3 separate regions of the Homo sapiens genome follow, and regions 1 and 3 are each linked to region 2. The links are contacts of gene promoters, found by promoter capture Hi-C in blood cells and fetal thymus (Javierre and others, 2016). All regions are on one chromosome and are shown on one strand. The core of a region is centred on a gene start or on the middle of the fragment in contact, and the rest is flanking DNA. Distances in the headings are between cores, read along the strand shown.

Region 1 (4,084 bases), core at 813-3,312, 230 kb after region 2:
ATTGAATACCCTTTATTTCTTTCTCCTGCCTGATTGCCCTGGCCAGAACTTCCAACACTATGTTGAATAGGAGTGGTGAGAGAGGGCATCCCTGTCTTGTGTCAGTTTTCAAAGGGAATGCTTCCAGTTTTTGCCCATTCAGTATGATATTGGCTGTGGGTTTGTTATAAATAGCTCTTATTATTTTTAGATACATCCCATCAATACCTATTTTATTGAGAGTTTTTAGCATGAAGGGCTGTTGAATTTTGTCAAAATTCAACATCTTTTCTGCATCTATTGAGATAATCATGTGGTTTTTGTCTCTGGTTCTGTTTATATGCTGGATTACGTTTATTGATTTGTGTATGTTGAACCAGCCTTGCATCCCAGGGCTGAAGCCCACTTGATCATGGTGGATAAGCTTTTGGATGTGCTACTGGATTCGATTTGCCAGTATTTTATTGAGAATTTTTCCATCGATATTCATCAGGGATATTGGTCTAAAATTCTCTTTTTTGTTGTGTCTCTGCCAGGCTTTGGTATCAGGATGATGCTGGCCTCATAAAATGAGTTAGGGAGGATTCCCTCTTTTTCTGTTGATTGGAATAGTTTCAGAAGGAATGGTACCAGCTCCACCTTATACCTCTGGTAGAATTTGGCTGTGAATCCATCTGGTCCTGGACTTTTTTGGTTGGTAAGCTATTAATTATTGCCTCAATTTCAGAGCCTATTATTGGTCTATTCAGGATTCAACTTCTTCCTGGTTTAGTCTTGGGAGGGTGTATGTGTCGAGGAACTTATCCATTTCTTCTAGATTTTCTAGTTTATTTGCGTAGAGGTGTTTATAGTATTCTCTCATGGTAGTTTGTATTTCTGTGGGATCAGTGGTGATATCCCCTTTATCATTTTTTATTGTGTCTATTTGATTCTTCTCTCTTTTCTTCTTTATTAGTCTTGCTAGTGGTCTATCAATTTTGTTGATCTTTTCAAAAAACCAGCTCCTGGATTCACTGATTTTTTGAAGGGTTTTTTTGTGTCTCTATCTCCTTCAGTTCTTCTCTGATCTTAGTTATTTCTTGCCTTCTGCTAGCTTTTGAATGTGTTTGCTCTTGCTTCTCTAGTTCTTTTAATTGTGATGTTAGGGTGTCAATTTTAGATCTTTCCTGCTTCCTCTTGTGGACATTTAGTGCTATAAATTTCCCTCTAAGCACTGCTTTAAATGTGTCCCAGAGATTCTGGCATGTTGTGTCTTTGTTCTCGTTGGTTTCAAAGAACATCTTTATTTCTGCCTTCATTTCATTATGTACCCAGTAGTCATTCAGGAGCAGGTTGTTCAGTTTCCATGTAGTTGAGCGGTTTTGAGTGAGTTTTTTAATCCTGAGTTCTAGTTTGATTGCACTGTGGTCAGAGAGACAGTTTTTTACAATTTCTGTTCTTTTACATTTGCTGAGGAGTGCTTTACTTCCAACTATGTGGTCAATTTTGGAATAAGTGAGGTGTGGTCTTGAGAAGAATGTATGTTCTGTTGATTTGGGGTGGAGAGTTCTGTAGATGTCTATTAGGTCCGCTTGGTGCAGAGCTGAGTTTAATTCCTAGATATCCTTGTTAACTTTCTGTCTCGTTGATCTGTCTAATGTTGACAGTGGGATGTTAAAGTCTCCCATTATTATTGTGTGGGAGTCTAAGTCTCTTTGTAGGTCTCTAAGGACTTGCTTTATGAATCTGGGTGCTCCTGTATTGGGTGCATATATATTTAGGATAGTTAGCTCTTCTTGTTGAATTGATCCCTTTACCATTATGTAATGGCCTTCTTTGTCTCTTTTGATCTTTGTTGGTTTAAAGTCTGTTTTATTAGAGACTAGGATTGCAACCCCTGCCTTTTTTTGTTTTCCATTCGCTTGGTAGATCTTCCTCCATCCCTTTATTTTGAGCCGAATAGGGCTATGATTTTTATAACATCTGAAACTCTGCTAAAAGACTCCAAAAGCTTATACAGACAACTTATATTTGATGTGTCTGTTATGTAAAAACATTTCTTAAGAAAAAATATTCTGAATACAGGTAAAAGACAGTACCTCTGAAAATGTTGGGGTTGACATATTGTTTCATTTCAATATAAAACAAAATAGATTTGGGAATAGCCTCCATTTAGAATAATTTTCTTTAAGCTTACTGGGTACTTCAATATCTATACTGAGAGTATTTTCTCCATTAACGATATTATGTTCTGCAGAGAAGAAACAAATGAAGGCATAAACAATTTCAAATTCATTAACCATAAATGACAACTGTGAACAAGACTTCAGATAATTTTATGAAAAAATTAAAAATTAGATCATATTTTAAAAAATACATTCTTTAGTAAAATACTACTGTCACAGAATTAGAGACAAATATGGTTAAGAAACTGATTCAAGTACAAGAATATGTATGAAGAATAAATATTCTGCTTGTATTATTTTTTTAAATTTAAAAACATAATGAAATTTTAAATTTGGGCTAATTATAGACACAGATGTATTTATATTTTTAAAAGGATTTCATTTTTGAAAAATGATTTGAATAAAACTATTTTGCAGGTCTGCTAATACAACAAAAAAAAATTTGTTGTTTAATAAATAAGTATTTTAAAAGCATTTTAAAAGATTTTAGTGTTCTCTTTCATTTTCAGAAGTGTTCCAATGTGGTGTTGAATTATAGTCACCCTCACTGTACATAACATATCTGGACATCCCTAAACATAGGCTAAACATAGGCTCATCCTTACTTGTCCTTAGACTCAGAAATTTCATTTAAAGATGAGGCTGCCTCCCATAGGCAGCTGTATTCTTGAAGGCTACACCCTCCACTAACATGGGAGGACTGGAGAAAATCCAAGCTAGGTACCAACCAGACAAAGAAAGAACCCCAGCATGTTCTGCAATAGCCAAACTGATCCTGATAAGGAAGGGAAATTTTCTCCCAAGCAATTGATTCTCTTTGAAAGATTTGAGAAAAGGGTGCTGGGATTTCAAAGAAGAGGGCAACCTGCAGAGCCCACAAAGTAAGGGAAAGAAAGGTCACAAAGAGGACTTTGGATACACAAGAAAATAACAGCTGCATTACTCACAGTAGCAAAGACATGGAATCAACCCAAATGCCCATCAATAATAGACTGGATAAAGAAAATGTGGTATATATACACCACGGAATACTATGCAGCCATAAAAAAGAATGAGATCATGTTCTTTGCAGGGACATGGATGGAGCTGGAAGCTGTTATCCTCAGCAAACTAATGCAGGAACAGAAACCAAACACCACATGTTCTCACTTATAAGTAGGAGCTGAATGATGAGAACACATGGACACATGGGGTGGGTGGGGAACGACACAGGCTGAGGCCTGTCAAGAGGGAGAGCATCAGGAAGAACAGCTAATGGGTGCTGGGCTTAATACCTAGGTGATGGGTTGATCTGTGCAGCAAACCACCATGGCACACGTTTACCTATGTAACAAACCTGCATATCCCGCACATGTACCCTGGAACTGAAAATAGAAGTTGATAAATAAAAATAAATAAATGCTGATAACTTGGAAAAAAAGAGAAAAAGAAAATAACAGCTGCAGTTACATGTATCTAGTGCCACCACACCATGTGCTAAGCACTTGATGGACACATTACATACATATTTTCTCCTCATCCTTTCAACACTTCTACAAGATGGGTGTGTTATCCCCATTTTCCAGATAAAAATCTGAAGCTCACCCAGGTCTGGGAGCTCTTTGCTGCTACACCACCCTGTCTGCCCCGGTAGAGGGCGATGGAGAGCATATACAAAAACAAAAAGAAAACAAAACAAAAAGCATGTAAGTAAAGAAAGGCAAGTAAATCAAGGTTACAACTGGAGAAAACGATTTGTTCTTATAAGCAAGAATGACTAAAGACCTTAACAGACTATGAAAAACCTAGATGTTCAAAATAAATTGGCTTTGGATACACTTGAGAACAGTGGGCTGCCAGAGCCCTTATTAAGTCTACCAGAAACAAAAATGCCCTCTTTTGGGTGAAACATGTGCAGGGAGCCAAAGCTGGATATTAATTACCGAGTGACTTCAACTACC
Region 2 (4,357 bases), core at 980-3,479:
CGTATAGAGCATCTCTCCTCAGTCAGACAAGAACCAAAGGCAACTGACGTGACTGCTCTCTCCTTGGAAGGACGGCAGGAGCCATGGCGCTGTGAACTCAAACTTCAGGGAGCTTCAGACCCTCCTGCTTGTGACCATACCCATGCCTGGGCTCTTGACTATTTAAATGTGTTTTGAAAACAACTCTCATTATAGAAATGAAAAGCCTGAAGCTTTCTCAGCAAAAAAGGTTTAACTGATGATACTCTACAAAGAATAAATACATCAATCTAATTGAACCAACCAAACCAGTCAATTGTTCTAATAGAATAAATAGTATCAAATAGGTAGGAAGAATATGAGCCATATCTTATGGCTTATACTGGGTGGGGTGGCCCAGAGGTTAGGAGGTTTAACTGATGATACTCTACAAAAAATAAATAGATAAATCTAATTGAACGGACCAAACCAGACAATTTTTCTAATAGAGTAAATAGTATCAAATAGGAAGAATATGAACCATTATCTTCAATGTGAATGTGGACTAGTTATTACTTTTATGGTCATTACTTAGACACAGGTTGTTTCCTTTGACACTCAAGCCACTGTGGTTGGATGATCCAATACTAGAATCAGGTAGACGTGGTTTTGATGCTTGCTTCTGTCAGTTATATTTTCTCAGTTCTAAGTAGCCATCAATTTGTAAGATGTTCCATTTTAAATGCACCAATCAACTATAAAATACATACTGAATTTCAAAAGTATTAGAATGAAAAAAAAATGTCTCTTAGAAATGGGATATGAACTGTGAGCCTGAGCAGATTACTTAACCTTTCTAAGTCTCGGTTTTCTCATCTGTAAAATGGGGATGATAGTAGCCGCTGCCTCATAGTTTTCTGTGAAAATTAATTAATACATTGCAGGTAAAGCAGAAAACACCATGCTTAGGGAATTGAAAGCACTCAATATTTGCATTTTTAAAAACTATGTCTTTAGTCAAGCATAACTCTTTTAAAATGCCATTAACTATAGGAGGAAGAATCAGTGTTGTAACATTTTGCTATTCCTTGAGTACAATCTATGTGTACTAAGAAAAGACATCATTGGTAACACAACTACCAAGCTTATCTAGGGATCAGCTATCTCAAGATAGGCATAGCAATTGCTGGATGCCATATGATTTCCATGTATTTTATTTCTCCAATAGCACTCACATTCTTTGGGAGCTGTATTCTAATACTTTCAGAAAAGCCATGGGAACACACCAGAGTGACTGCTCGAGTAAATAAGTAGCATAAACAGCAAGCCAAACCATTGATGTACACATCACTGGGCCCAATACTATGAAATCCCACATAAGAAACTTGAAAGTGAAAGCTGGAATTCTGAGGATACTGGTTTTGCTTAATAAACAGCATTTCAACAGGTGAGTCAACTTAGTATTGCAGAGCGTGGTGTTGGCTTTTTTCTGATTGGGGCTAGTTTTTCATTAAAGGCAATATCTAGCACTGAAATAGACAACAGTACCTAGTCCCAACCACCTGCTTCCTGGTGAGTCAGTTCAAGTTCTCACAATTGTGTCTGTGTCCAGCCCCAGACCAGCTGAGCTGGGTCATGTGCTCACCCAGATCTTTCCCTAAAAGAGGACTGACAGGGAAACCACTGCCCTCTTTCACATCCAGGGAAGGAGTGACTTCTAAGAGAAATAGGGTTTTGTTTCCTCGCCAAAGTGTCAGGAATGATCAAATGTGAAAAACAGAGGGCAAATCCGTGTTAGTGCGTCATTAGGTGGGTGTTTCTAAAGTGATCACATGGTAACACTTCCTCTGCTCGCTGACCCACCAGGAGTGTTTTGGAAACAGTCAGCCCACGTGAAATGGGCTGAAGACATCCCAGTGTCCTCCTCTCAGAAGCTGTGAGCCCCAGTCAGGGCGGGCTGTCTTAGCCTGTAAACGTCCACAGGGCCAGAGCCTATATTTAACTGATGACACATCTTACAAGGGGGAAGGGAAGGGGAATCTGTGACCCTGTTTCCTCCCACCAACACCAGCCCATTCACACAGAGTCTTTTGAAGGTCTCACTGGCAGTACTCCTTCAAACTTACCCAATATGCCCCACTCAAAGGCCCTCCCAGGCTTGTGGGAACAGAAAGATTTCTTGAAATGGAAAGGAGGGTTGTGAATGAGTGAGGAAATTCAGCATGGAGATATGAGAGGCTCACTCTTTAGCCACACGGAACCGGGGACTCCAAGGCAACCCCATTCCCAGAGTTCTTTCGAGGGTGGGGCTAATGACATGGGACCAAGAATTGACTCCAGGAAAGGGCATGGTGATGTGTGGCCTCCCAGACAGCCTCAGAGCAAGCAGGTGGATTTGACTTAGGCTGTGGGGAAGGCAACAGCCTCTGTATATTTTTCCATCTTGATGCTGAGTCAGACAAGGCAGTTAGTGGTTCTTTCCAGAATCCCTGCCAGCCTTTTAAAGAAAAAGTCTTTGCAGATTTTGCTTTAGTCCATCTCTGCCAAGGGGTCATTTTCTATGTTGTACTTCCTCCCTATGTGAGGGCAAGGATAATGTAGCCTTGTGTAGACTGTATATACGCTTCAGTTCCTAGCTAAGCCACATTGAGACCTCAGTAAAACAGGTTTGATTGCAATCAGAAAAGAGTTGATTTGAGATTTAAAGGAAATGACATGGATACAGTGCTCACCAGAAAGTATTAAAATGGTATTTGTTGCTTATTATTGGTAGTTATTGTCATGATATTGCTACTGATGCTGAACAAAGACCCAAGAACCAGGGTGATGTTTAGCATGGGCTGGCCTCAGCAGGACTGAAAGGACATCAATAAGGGAGAACAGAGAGAAGGAAGGAGGACAAGTGCCAACTTTGAGCAGGTATCAGGTGTATGTGGGGGCAAACCATTTCTCCGTCCACCCTGATGATGAGTCCCCGTTTCCCTTTTTAAGGCCTGATTTTTGCACCCTCACCCCACCTAAGGCAGCCAGGGGCCCACACTGCAATACTCCTAGGTAACATCCATACTTTTTTTTTTTTTTTGAGATAGAGTCTCCCACTGTCACCCAGGTTGGAGTGCAATGGCGAGATCTCGGCTCACTGCAACCTCCGCCTCTCAGGTTCACGTGATTCTCCTGCCTCAGCCTCCAGAGTAGCTGGGATTACAGGCGCACACCACCATACCCGGCTAATTTTTTGTATTTTTGGTAGAGACAGGGTTTCACTATGTTGGCCAGACTGGCGTCGAACTCCTGACCTCGTGATCTGCCCGCCTCGGCCTCCCAAAGTGCTGGGATTACAGGCGTGAGCCACTGTGCCTGGCCAACATCCATACTCTTGATCTGTTCCTCCACCCACAGCACTGCTTATCTGGCCAGGCTCTCGTTCCTTCATTACACAGCTTTCTGCTGGGAAGCAGATAACTAATATAAAGATGATACTAACGATTAATGGAGGCTTCATGGAGTCTCCCAGAAATATCACGTTTGTGGTTAATATTCCAAAGGCTACTGGTAGGGATTTCTCAATCTAACATGAGTCTGAAAAAGAGATGATTTTCATCAGAGCTATTCTCGGGACTCTTTAAATCAGGCCCTCAAGTGCTTATCTTCTTTGCCTATGTTTAGAGTCAATCCTTAAAGCAAGTAAACAGTGTCCCCATATATTTAGGAATTCTCAAAATCCTTGGATTTGTTCATACTAAGCTACTGTTATACTCATTTTTTAAAAAAATTTTGGGCTCACTTTTCACCATCTGCATAATGGGCATATAACATAAATCCATTCTGTATCACTTAATCATGTCTTATCCTAGATGAATAAACACATGAAAAATCAGCCTGTAAATCAGAGAATGTAGCTGTGTTAACTGGAGATGGGAAAGGGGAGCAGGTAGAATTAATATTACCATTAGTCATGACTAAAGCCAAACTTAGCAGTTTTAAAACTATTTAACCATCCTGATTGTATATTGGAATCAACTGGGAATTTTTCTTTTAACTACCAATTCTTAGGCCCCATCCCGAAAGATTCTGATTCAATTGATATGAAGTAAGATCTGAGCATCAGAATTTTTGTTTACAGTTCCTAAGGTAATTCTCTTGTGCCACCAAGACTGAGAACCAGTGTTTTAAAATAGTATTGGGAATACACAGTAGGTGAAAAACTGGCATCATATTAGGTGGGTCTTGGTTGTGATCATGAGCTGAGGAGAGCTCTATATTCTGGAAGCACTCAGCAACGGATGTTCAATGGGGTTCACACCATGGTTGCAGTTTGGGGGAAAGAACCCTTGGAGAGAAAGCAAGAACCACAAGAATCACTGAATCATGGGTTAGAGGAGCCCTCCAAAATCACCTC
Region 3 (4,346 bases), core at 1,019-3,518, 180 kb after region 2:
TCAGCCCCCCAAGAGCTGTGATTATGTCTTACTTCTTTTATAACCTTTTACTCTCTGTGAATTCTGAGTACCTAACAGGATTTTGGTGCAACTTCACCCTCATTGAGTGCCTAGCGCTGGGTGAATAGACATGTAAAAAGCTGGCTGGACACAGTGGCTCACACCTGTAATCCCAACACTTTGGGAGGTCGGGGCACAATAATTACTTGAGACTAGTTCAAGACTAGCCTGGGCAGCATAGCAAGATCTCATCTCTAAAAAAATTTATTTTTAATATATAAAAAGCCATGGGGACAGTTCTCAGAAAGATTGCAACTATTTTTGGGAAAACAGGACATAAATATGTTTAACCATGAGACTGGGAAGCAGTCTGGGGCTAGATAATAAAAGTTTGGAAGAACAGGTGAAAGAGTTTGAGCCATACTTTGTAGACAATGGAGTTATTAGAGGTCTTTTTTTTTTATACTTTAAGTTTTAGGGTACATGTGCACATTGTGCAGGTTAGTTACATATGTATACATGTGCCATGCTGGTGCACTGCACCCACTAACTCGTCATCTAGCATTAGGTATATCTCCCAATGCTATCCCTCCCCCCTCCCCCCACCCCACAACAGTCCCCAGAGTGTGATATTCCCCTTCCTGTGTCCATGTGATCTCATTGTTCAATTCCCACCTATGAGTGAGAATATGCGGTGTTTGGTTTTTTGTTTTTAAGCAGGAGAGTGGAGACACGTACAAGACAGAAGATTAATTTGGCTGCAGCCTTGCTTACTTCCCTCGGGCCACATGGAGGCTTCTCTCTGTTCCTCTGTTTGTAGAACCCATCTGGTTTGTTCCTGCCTCTGGGCCTTTTCACTTACAATCCCCCTTGTCTGGGATGCTTGCTCCCTGTCTTCCCAAGGCAGGCTCTTTCCCCCTGTGTCATTCAGAAGCCAGTTCAAAGGCCTCTCCTCGGAGACCCTTCTCTTGACTACTCACCTAGAATAGGTCCCACCCTCAGCCACCCTCGACATTTTACCTGTGTACTTCTTTTGTTCAGAGTATTTCTTGCTTCTGAAATTACCTTCCTTTTGTGTTTGCCTGACTGGATCTCTCTCCATCCTTTGGTTATAAGCTCCAGGAAAGCAAGGAGTTTTTTTTGTCTTATTCACTGTCGTATCTCCAGTGCTTGCAATAGCATCTGTCACATCACAGTTACTCTATAAAAATGGATTGTTTAAATGAATGAATGAATGAAAGTTTAGGATGGATTGTCAGGGGAGTAGCGTTGACAGATGGGCAGATCCAAGAAACACTGAAGGCAGGAAGACCAAGAGGAGACTAGGATACCAGCCCTGAATGAACAAACGGGTATTGCCAAGACCTGGAGGTTGAATGAATGCTGGTAAAGAAGGGAGAGCAGCCAGGACAAAGGAGACTTTCTTCTAGGTTAGATGCCTCGGAGAACAATGGAACCAATAATATAGACAAATACAAGCAGGTAGATGATAAATAGTTCTGTTCTGGCATTTTGTAAAAATCTTGTATTTTTTTTAAATCACATCATAAAAACAATAATTTCAATGAAAGCAAAAAGGTTAGTGTGTCAGAAATGTTCATTAGTTTACCTGCTTTTTTGTTGTAGACATTCCTATAAGGGTTAATTTAAGAATTATCATATCCACTGTTTATTTATTGCTTACTGTTTTGAATATTGTTCTAAGAAATTAAATATATTTATTTCATTCAATCCTCAAAGCAACCCAATACAATAGGCTTTCTTTTTATCCTCATTTTGTAGGCGAGAAAACTGAGGCAGAGAGAGGTCAAATAACTAACATAATACCCAACACACAATACAGCTGGTACTTAAACCCAGGCAGAATAACTGCCAACATGGCTACAGAAATTTCATTAAGCAAAAATAAAGACATTTTTACAACTAAGTAGATCTGTTATAAACCAAGATAAAAATTAGTTGCTCCCAACTGATCAAATCCTGAACAACACGTGAGACCAGAGAAAAATTAATGATTCCTAGACCACAATTAGATGGTAACAACACATACAAATAAAAATAATTGCAGCAAAGATCACAAACATCAATAAAAGAATGGGCATTGGTGCAGCCATTCATCCACCAAGACCATTGGGCAGCCCTGTGAAGGCACATGGTGCTTTCCTTGAGGTCTGGGTACAAGCTTCCTATCATAACCCCACTCAACCATAGAAGCTCCCACGGTGCAAAGCATTTTTTCTAATTCATCTTTCTTATTGTATCTAATTTCCTTTGTGTAAACTCACACTGCAAGAGAAATGCTTGCAGTATTTCAGACAAGCTCTGTTTGGTATGAAAGGAGGTTATAAGCTTGAAGAAGTTCAGTAGATGGAGACTGACTGATTGACATAGATATCACTCTTACATGTTCCAAATAACCCAATGCCCCTTAGTGTATCCTGGCTTCCTTTCCCCTTGAAGCTACTTCCTCCTACCATTGTTACTCCGTTCAAGTGGTAAAATGGATCTCATCCGGGGAGTAGGGTCCCACTCCACAGGAGGCACCCTACCCTGCTTTTAGTAGCTGAGCACATGTAGTTTCTCGCTAGTATGAAACTTCAGGAAATGACTCTGTATGCTTTGTCCTGTTCATGGGCTAAGAGAGAAGGTGGCGGCTTCTACTTTCAAAAAAGTTCAGAGACAAAGTCCCTGGAGCTCTTCCTTGGCAGCTTTGAAAGGAACCTACGAAGTAGATACTCTACTTGACTGCTCCCCTCCTGCTCCTTCAGTGGGTTCATGCGGGGTCCTTGTCCAGGTAAATGAAAAGCTGCAGGGCTCTTTGATTCAGTGGAGGGAATTTGGCCTCCAGGTAAATGAAAAGCTGCAGGGCTCTGTGATTCAGTGGAGGGAATTTGGCCAAGAAGAAGTAGCACTCTGCAAGGATCTACGGGGACAGACCAAGGGCTATGTAAGCTGCTAACTTCCTGATGTCCTTCCCTAGAGAAGGGAGGCAGAGTTTCCACCCCTCAGCGGTTTTATAGACAGAGGTTCCTTGGTAACCCCCTTTTTTCAGGTTATCCTTTTCGGTCATCCCACCCCTGGTCGCCCTGCCTACGGTCTCAGAAAACAAGCTCTCTTAGCTGTGCTCCTCCCTAGAACACTGTCCTGACTGTGAGGGCCAGGTCAAACCCCCTCAGATCCTTGAGGCCAGAGAACAGGGAGAGCATGTATGCCTCAGGCTCTCTGGGTTAAAGGAGAGAGACAGGCTGTTCAGATCCAAGTACACAGAAGCCTGATTTGATCCTCAGGATAATTGTCTCTAGACTGTAACCAGGTGCTTTGTAATGACAGTCCAGCTGTGGGCAGAGGAGCTAGCAAAGATTGTCCCCCGAGGAACAAAGACCAGCCTGGCCCATTAGCACAAGTTTACACTAAAGGAAGAGACTAAGTTGAAGAAAGATATGCAGAGGCTGCTCTTACTGATTTTATTTGCGATCACCAGAAACAGGTCTTCTGCACTATCTGTGCAAATGGACTAAAAGGTGCAAAGTGATTAATGCAACAACAAAAAGTAAATAAACATATGTTCCCTTTTTTTTCAAAACAAATCCCTCAATCTTTTTATTTTTATTTATTTATTTATTTTTTAGAGACAAGGTCTCCCTCTGTCACCCAGGCTGGAGCACAGTGGCATGAACATAGCTCACTGCAGCCTGGAATTCCTGGGCTCAAGTGATCCTCCTGCCTCAGCCTCTCAACTAGCTAGGACTACAGGCACACACCACCACGCTCAGCTAATTTTTTAATTTTTTCAAAAGGTGAGGTCTGGATATGTTGCCCATGCTGGTCTCGAACTCCTGGCCTCAAATGCTCCTCCTATCTCGGCCTCCCAAATTGCTGGGATTATAGGCTTGAACTGTTTACCACAGCCAGTCATAAATCCTTGAATCTTATTTAAAAACAGATGATGCTAGAAGGTCATATTTTAGTAGAGGAAGTCTTGATGAGATAGAAACCTCCTTCAAGATTTCCACATTGACTCAAGAGGTAACTGCCTGACGCTTAAAGTTTCCCTCGATATCTCCTCTTACCTGTCTACTCTAGACCTTGAAAGGTGTAATATCTAGGAAAACATCCATAGCAAGGGAGATCAAAAGCTTCCCATCACCCAACTCTAGAGGGCTCTGCTGTCTTCTGTCTGAACAAAGCTGGAAAAGGAGAACTCTTCTCACTGTCAGTCAATGGGCAAGCTTTTGAGTCCCCCATGCAACCACATCTAGGGGGAATAGAGACACCTCTCATCAATCTGCAACTGCAGTACAGGAGGGGGCAATTCCAATGCCCCTTCCTCCCTGACCGCCTTTGTT

The links. The method cuts DNA at HindIII sites, captures the fragments that hold promoters and counts their contacts. A CHiCAGO score of 5 or more calls a contact.
Region 1: a contact is called between a fragment that was not itself captured here and the fragment with the promoter of LINC01888 in region 2, in 1 of 17 cell types (activated CD4 T cells). The highest score is 5.3, in activated CD4 T cells.
Region 3: a fragment that was not itself captured here is called in contact with the fragment with the promoter of LINC01888 in region 2 in 1 of 17 cell types (activated CD4 T cells); the score reaches 5.7 in activated CD4 T cells.

The regions. Positions count from the first base shown.
Region 1 is chr2:68,595,070-68,599,153 of GRCh38, reverse strand. No RefSeq gene overlaps it. Among named protein-coding and RNA genes, the nearest start is that of PROKR1, 46 kb to the left of the region's middle. The HindIII fragment of the contact is 181 bases long and covers 1,972-2,152 here.
Region 2 is chr2:68,829,880-68,834,236 of GRCh38, reverse strand. LINC01888 (long intergenic non-protein coding RNA 1888) reads right to left here and starts at 2,229. Exons shown (of 2, transcript NR_183895.1): 1 at 2,085-2,229. It overlaps LINC01890 (long intergenic non-protein coding RNA 1890), which reads left to right. Exons shown (of 4, transcript NR_183884.1): 2 at 1,187-1,405; 3 at 2,732-2,877. RefSeq lists an enhancer at 4,319-4,357. The HindIII fragment of the contact is 9,437 bases long and covers 1,105-4,357 here.
Region 3 is chr2:68,646,330-68,650,675 of GRCh38, reverse strand. All of the region lies in intron 2 of PROKR1 (prokineticin receptor 1), which reads right to left. Among named protein-coding and RNA genes, the nearest start is that of PROKR1, 4.9 kb to the right of the region's middle. The HindIII fragment of the contact is 167 bases long and covers 2,185-2,351 here.